Regions from separate parts of the Homo sapiens genome. Here region 2 is linked to region 1. Evidence: promoter capture Hi-C in human tissues and cell types (Jung and others, 2019). All regions are on one chromosome and are shown on one strand. Each heading gives the region's core, a stretch centred on a gene start or on the middle of the fragment in contact. The rest is flanking DNA. Distances are from core to core; before and after follow the strand shown.

Region 1 (3,650 bases), core at 405-2,904:
CAAGTCACAACCTTGGGAGTGGCTGAGGGAGTGGGGGACCCTTTGGATGGGTGCTCACCTGTCTGCAGGTAGTCTGGAGGGCTGTCATAGGCCAGGCTGCTCAGCTAGTGGGGGAAGGGGCAGGGAGGAACTAGATGAGCCTCCAACCACCCCAAGAGGAACTCACCACCTCTGTGCCTACTCTGAGCCAACTTACCTTGGGAGGCCGCTGGGGACCAGGGCTGACTGAAGGCATGTCTGGGTTACCAAGGCCTAGTGGGGGACAGTGAGGTTAGGGAGGGTGCTAATTCACAGGTTAGGTCATGGGAGAGGGTCAGAGGGGTCACAGGGTCAGGATATGTGAATCACAGGCTCATGCCACTGGGAGGGTCATTGGAGATTGCGAGTCACAGGGTCACAGAGTCGAGGTCTCACTTGGGGGCCCACTGTCCAGCAATTCCACAAAGTTGGATGGGAAGGCTCCCAGCTGCCCGTTCTTCTTCCCCAGCCACCAGCCGTCCTCAATCTGGGGAGAGGGGAGGACGCAGAGGCGTCTGGTTCTGCCCCAAGAGTCCCTAGGATAATCTGCCACCCTTGGTTCTGCCCAAGCGCCCCTTCCTCCCTCCTTCCCTCCCGCGCTTCCCCGTATCTGCACCGTCGCCATTCCCACCGTCCACACCCTCACTTCCCACCCCGCTCACTAGGGAGGCGCGTTCCATCATCCTCCCCCAAACGGTCCCATCACCTCACCCCTCACCTCCTTTATCATTTCCACGATCTCCCCAGCTTGCAGCTTCAGCTCGTCCGCCTGCTCTGGGCTGTAGCTGAAGTTCACTTTGCACCATCTTTGGGGCCTCGGGTGTTTGGCAGGATGACCTAGCACCGGACAAGCGCGGCTGAGCTCCAGTCGGACGCCCCAGTCAGAGGAGCTGGGGGAAGCGCAAGGCGCGCACGTAGCCTTTGGTCCCTCCAGCCCCGCCCCAGGGCGGAGCATTGCACTCGAGAACCAATCACAGACCGCAGGGCGGCCCCGAGGTCCCGCCCAGAGCCGCGCCCGTCACTAAGAGCCGGAGACGCCGGGGTCGCACTGGCTCCGTGCACCCGCCCACCGGCGCCCGTCCCCGCCCTTGCGCTCACCTCGGCGGCGCGCACAGCGCGGCCTCCGCGCCTCTCCGGAGCCCCGCAGGGTCTCTGGGATCTCCTGGGAATCAGGGCACGGGGAAGGCGCTCTCAGCTCCCGGGGGGCGCGCGCTGAGACCCCACAGCCCGCCCCTGGCTCGGCCTCACCTGCACCAGGCGCTCGGGGAAGAGGCCATAGCGGCCCCCAAACTCTCCGCGAAGCCAGCCCCGCGCGGGCACCCAGCGCACCTGCCGGACCACGTCCCCGGGCGCCAGACTCAGCTCGTCCTCCTTCTGCGCGCGGTATCCGGCCAGGACGAGGACTTCTGCGGGCGGAAGACGGGGCCGGCGTGCGGCTCAGAAAGGCCCAGCCGGGCAGCCTGGCTAGGGCGGGCGTGTCCCCAAGCACCGTAGAGGGCAGCGGGGGTCGGGGGGTGGTGTGGGCTCTTGCTATGTCCACGGTTGCAGAGAGAGGCCACCTCAAAGCCTCCGCACTTACCCATGGTTTCCGGGGCGCCCTCCAGAGCCTGGCAGCTCCCTCTGACGGCCGAGTACTGGGCCCGCGCAGGGTGCGACCTGAGGCAAGACAGTAGGGTAAAGGAGGCGTAGCCGCCAGCCGATAGGTCGGGCCAGGTGCTGGGAGTGGGTGTGGAGAGGGGGCGGCCCGGCTCAGCAGGTCCGGCCCCCAACCCCGGGGTGAGGAGGACTCCAGGGTCTCTGGCCTGTGCAGCGGTCACAGCTCCGTCACAGGTTCTTCCGCCCACCTAAATTTTAGGCCAGCCGCCTCTCCCTTTCCCTCAGCTTTTGCCCGGAGGCTCCCAGCTACAATTTGCACAGAGCCTTTCCAGGCCCACCCTTCCCCAGCTCACAAGCTTTTGGCTTGAGGGGAAAAGGTGGGGAGAGGCACATACCAGGGTGGGGCCCCCCAGCAAGTAGCAACCGCTCTAAACCGGCCTTGAGTGAATGAAGTGGCTGCCCTTGTACCAGCAATAGCTTTGAGTGGACACTTCCAGTCTGCTTTCCTTCAAGGCGTACTCCTCTCTGGCCCCGTACCCACTCTCTACCCCCATATAGGAAGGACACAGCAAAGACCCCTGCTTTGGGGCCAGAGGTCTAGTTTGGTTTCAGAAAACACCTCCAGGTTTTCCCTGGGAGTTAGGCCGGGAGAATGAATTTTACCAGCTTCCAAGATTTCTGCTCACAGTTGAGTCCCCAGCCGGCAGGAGTCTGAAGGTTAGGGCCCACCCTATGGCCAGTCCATGTGGGATAGGCTCTTTCAGGTAGAAGGCTGAGCCTACTAACCACATCCCTTGATCCCTGCCCCACCACCATGATGAAGGAAGCCAAAGTCCTTGCCTATGACACCAGTGGAAAAAATCTGTTTCTCCTGGGGTGTCCAAGGTACACAATGCTCCTCCCAGGAAGGACTGTGTCTGTCTGGGACTCCAGCAGCCTGCGCAAGGCCCCACAGGCCCTTTGTCTTTCAGGTTTTCTGAAACTGCCGTGGGAAGTTATCTACCACCCTCAACACACACACACACTCAGGATGACAATGAACAGAACCCGTTTACATCTGCCACTTCATTTATTTTATTTGCAGGAGGAGTTGAAACAAATTTTAAGGGAGATTTTCATTTTCCCCCTAAACATGAATCATTCAAGTAAAACCAACTTAACTATAGAAATGTAGCAAAGTAAGGGGAAAGCAGCACAACAACGCAAGAGGCAAAGGCTGGGGGGGAGAGGTGGGTGCAGTCCGCATATAACATATGCATAAATGCCTTATGATTCACCTGCTCAGGACCGCCTCCCCAGAAGGCAAGCACAAGGACCCATTTTAAGAGGATGTTTCCCCCCAAACATCTGAGAATGCTTCAACTTAAACAGCTTAAGGTTAAAAAGACAAAGAAAAAAAAAAAGAAACCCAAAAAAACCCCTGAACCACCCAGCCATAACCACCTTCCTTAATCGATCATAGGAGTTTCTTTTCATTTTATAAAAAGATTAATAAAAAATATTGAAAAAATTTTCTCATATTTGTAAAGATAATAGAATTCATAAGTTTCTTAGAAAACAGACCAGACACTGCCCTCCAGTTTCCACCCCGTTGCTGGGAGGATCAGCAGGACTAGAAAGTTTGGGATACTGGAGCTGCTGGTGGAGAACGGGGAAGTCCAGCCCAGAAGAAATCAGGAAATAGGGCTCAGGGGCACGTGAGGTGTGGTAAGGAGCAACTCCACGTGATACATGGCTGCGCAGAAAAGGGGAACACAAGGTGGTCGGAAAGGCCTTAAACTCCTCCTTGACATACAAAACCGGTTTTTACAAAGATCCAAGCAGTTTGGTCCCAAACTGAGGTGAACACTTCAAAGTTTATTCACATGCTTTTGTTTTCTCTTTCAAGAATCAAAGTTTCCCAAATTAAATGTTTCTAATATTACTACATATGCCTAAAAAAAGAAAAAAAAAAAAAAAAAGGAGGGGGCTTTTAAAATCAGGACAGGGGAAAAGAGATCGAAAATCATCAAATTAGTCATCTTAGCTCCAAATGA
Region 2 (3,650 bases), core at 797-3,296, 450 kb after region 1:
AGGCCTGAGGATCCCGGCCGTTGCTCTGTCCTGACACATGACTGCCTTCCGCACTGTAAAGAGAATAAAACAAAACAAAACAAAGCAAAACAAACAAACAAAAAACCAAAAACAACAACAACAAAAAAACAAAAAACAGGTGTAACAGAAGACCACTTCAAACTTCACACGTTTCAAATAGCACAAACAGTACTAGATTCTAGAATATCTTAGGCTTAAGCTTTAGCTTCTTGAATAATTTGTTATGTCCTTCTAAATATCAGTTGACTCAACTGAATTTCTTTTTTTTTTTTTTTTTTTTGAGACAGAGTCTCGCTGTCTCCCAGGCTGGAGTTCAGTGGCGCAATCTCGGCTCACTGCAAGCTCTGCCTCCCGGGTTTACACCATTCTCCTGCCTCAGCCTCCCGAGTAGCTGGGACTACAGGCGCCCGCCACCACACCCGGCTGATTTTTTTGTATTTTTACTAGAGACGGGGTTTCACCATGTTAGCCAGGATGGTCTCGATCTCCTGACCTCGTGATCCGCCTGCCTCGGCCTCCCAAAGTGCTGGGATTACAGGCGTGAGCCACCGCGCCAGGCCAACTGAACTTCTTTAATGAGCTGCTGCAAGAATTAAATAATATAATGTCTGCAAAGACACAATCCTTAACAGTATCCATATAAAGATTTCCACTGCCCACTATGTCTGGCTAATTTCTTTAGGCTTCAGTCAAATGTCATTTTTCTGCACAGAAATCTTCTTTGACTTTAAGGTCCAGGTCAGAGCCACCTGGAACATGCTTTAACAGAATCCTATATTTTTCTTTCATGGTACTAAACACAATTGAAATTAAATTATTACTTGGGTAATTATTTATTTTCCCACTGGGATATAAACTCCAAGAAAGCAGCAATTTTGTCCACCTTGCTCACCACTGTATCCTTGGTGTCTAGCACATAATACAACAAAGTCTCAATAAACCATTAGTTGAATGAATGCATCTACGTACCTAGCATAGTGATGGAACATAGGAAATTCCCAGCAAATGCTATTGTGCCACCAGTCTCTTCTTGTCTTCCCTTCACTAACTATATAACCTTGGACACATAATAACTCCTCTGAACTTTGGTCTTTCGGAGTAACAACAACAACTTCTAAACATACTACTTAAGGATACCATGTGATATAAAGGGCTTGACAAGCTGTAAATCCCCATCCCTCTTCTGACTTTCTCTTTAAGTGATTATTATCCTTATCATCTAGGCTCAAAATCTTAGCCATCTTTTACTTCACCCTCTCCTCTGACATGCATATCCAATTAACTGTTAAGTCCTGTCTATTCTATCCTAGGAACAGCATTTTACATTTAACAAACACGGTCTTGCTTTAACATATTTTTCCAGCCTCATACCTGCTTGTTCCCCTTTAATATCCTCCAGCCAAAGAAAATTTGCTACTGTACAAACATGCCACTTGCTTTTTCCCCTTTGTGTCCCTTGTTCTCTCTGCCCTGAAAATTCTTTTCTCTTTTTTGTAGAGCCATTCTATCCATCCAGCTATGAAATCTTCTCTAAAAGCCTCTCCTCTGGTGTCCCATTGCACTTTTATCTGTACTGACTTGGGCTACTTGTCAGTTGTATATTTGCCTGTATTGTCTCCCATACTGAAACATAAAATCCCCGTGGACAAGAAACATGTCTTACTCATCTTAGTAATTCTAGCACCTAGCACAGTACTAGGCACACAGTCAATACCTAATAAATATGCCGAATAAATGAAAGCACATTACGGAATGGAAGGTACAAAGCCACAGTTGGACATTTTCCATAATAGTGTATTTTCAACCCTTACAGAAATAGACTTGCAGTGGAATGTCTACTATTTAGCAGCTGAATTCAGACTTGGGGAAGAGCCCAGAAACTGCTACACTTCACAGATGGTCATTTGGAAAAGAAAATTAATGCAGAGAGCTTGTGTAACTATTTAATAGTAGCTCAGGAATAGGTCAAAATAACAGATTCTCTGATTCTCCTGAGATGCCTATTTGAGAGTGAGAATCATCTGTGCCCCCACTCCCACACACACATCCAGGTTCACTCTGGGGTATTTTTCCAGAATGTACCAAAAGCAAAGTGAACTGGTCAGGCCTCCTCACTTGCATGAAGTGGAATCCACAGCCCTGTGACTACTTTGACCGGAGCCAGGGTACTGTGTTGACCACTTTTTGAGGCTACTTAGGACCTGAGCAGAACTGAAATGCATTTGGCTCCATGGGAGAACCACAAGCAGCTCCAAATTAAACTCCTTTAGAGACACAACACAAGTATAAACAAGCCTGAGCACTTCTTGGACCAAAAGTCACATTACAAGCTCTCAGAGGCACATGCAATTTTATTTGCTTCTTACAATTTAAACTCTGAAAGTTTAAATCCTTAAAAAAGTTTTCTATTGTAGCTCATTTTTTTTAACATGCTACTAAAATATAAAGAGACTTTATTGTGCCTAAGAAACTTGCCTGTCATGATCTTTATCCACCAGATGATACCTTGCCCTAAATGCTACAAGCCGGGCATAATATGCAGGGGCTGGAATAGAGACTGAGCGAGTGCACCTCACATAGGTGTGACACAGCTGGTAAGTCAGTAGCTGGAGTTCATCTGCAGTGAAGCAGTTGTCATCCCACAAGACCTGGTAATGTGAGGGACGGCTGGTTCCCTGAGGAGAGAGTTTTATGATTAATGTTTTTTTTTTGTTCGTTTTTTGTTTTTGTTTTTTTTTTTTTTTTTTTGAGATGGAGTCTCACTCTGTCACCTAGGCTGGAGTGCAGTGGTACGATCTTGGTTCACAGAAACCCCCGCCTCTGGACTTCAAACAATTCTCCTGCCTCGGCCTCCCAAGTAGCTGGGACTATAGGTGCACGCCACCATGCCCAGATAATTTTTGTTTTTTTTAGTAGAGATGGGGTTTCACCACATTGGTCAGGCTGGTCTCAAACTCCTGACCTCAGGTGATCTGCCCATTTCGGCCTCCCAAAGTGATTGGATTACAAGCGTGAGCCACCATGCCTGGCCTGATTAATATATTTCTGACATGACACGAGAAGAGAAAATAATTGAAACCTACTCCTTAAACTCAGAAATACTTCTGCCTAGCACACCTACAAGCAGATACCTAGACCAAAAGATAATTCTAGGATACAAGCATTAACAAAGTTAGGCACGGTGTTAAATAACAAGTCGACTCAAGCTAGTTGCTGAATTTGCAAACATCTCCCTATCAAGTCAAAGATCTGAACCAGCTTCCAAATTACCTGAATTCCTGCATGACTACAGAGGTAAAAGTCAAACTCAGATGGATGTGTGATGGTACTATCCACTGTAGTGCCTGCTGGTACATTGCCACTTTTCCCTACCTACAAAAAACAAAAAAAAGTAATTAGTCATCAAAGTGCCAAACTGTGGTCAGGCCATTTTTTTCTTTTGTGTGTTAATTGGGAGCAAGTTGGTAAATGTCTCTTAAGTCTTGAAAATCACTTTCATTCAAGATGTTGAATCCTCTGTAACTTTCCCTTAGCCCAACCATTTTAACCTATAGTATTTTCACAAACAAATATGTTCCAGGATCTCTTCAGGAGGATACGGACAAAAATATTTTACCCGTGGCTTTGGG

Evidence for each region. Contacts are between HindIII fragments. The study calls those that stand out against the background at their distance.
Region 2: a contact is called between a fragment that was not itself captured here and the fragment with the promoter of SH3D21 in region 1, in 1 of the 25 tissues and cell types used here (psoas muscle).

The regions. Positions count from the first base shown.
Region 1 is chr1:36,304,372-36,308,021 of GRCh38, reverse strand. It overlaps SH3D21 (SH3 domain containing 21), which reads right to left and starts at 1,654. Exons shown (of 16, transcript NM_001162530.2): 1 at 1,598-1,654; 2 at 1,267-1,424; 3 at 1,117-1,180; 4 at 737-855; 5 at 415-505; 6 at 197-252; 7 at 59-104. The coding sequence starts at 1,601. It overlaps THRAP3 (thyroid hormone receptor associated protein 3), which reads right to left. Exons shown (of 12, transcript NM_005119.4): 12 at 2,665-3,650. RefSeq lists enhancers at 754-803, 606-1,406 and silencers at 904-1,343, 1,564-1,613. The HindIII fragment of the contact is 33,466 bases long and covers 1-3,297 here.
Region 2 is chr1:35,849,900-35,853,549 of GRCh38, reverse strand. AGO4 (argonaute RISC component 4) reads right to left here. Exons shown (of 18, transcript NM_017629.4): 16 at 3,292-3,393; 17 at 2,497-2,696; 18 at 1-53. Among named protein-coding and RNA genes, the nearest start is that of AGO1, 31 kb to the left of the region's middle. The HindIII fragment of the contact is 6,144 bases long and covers 1-3,650 here.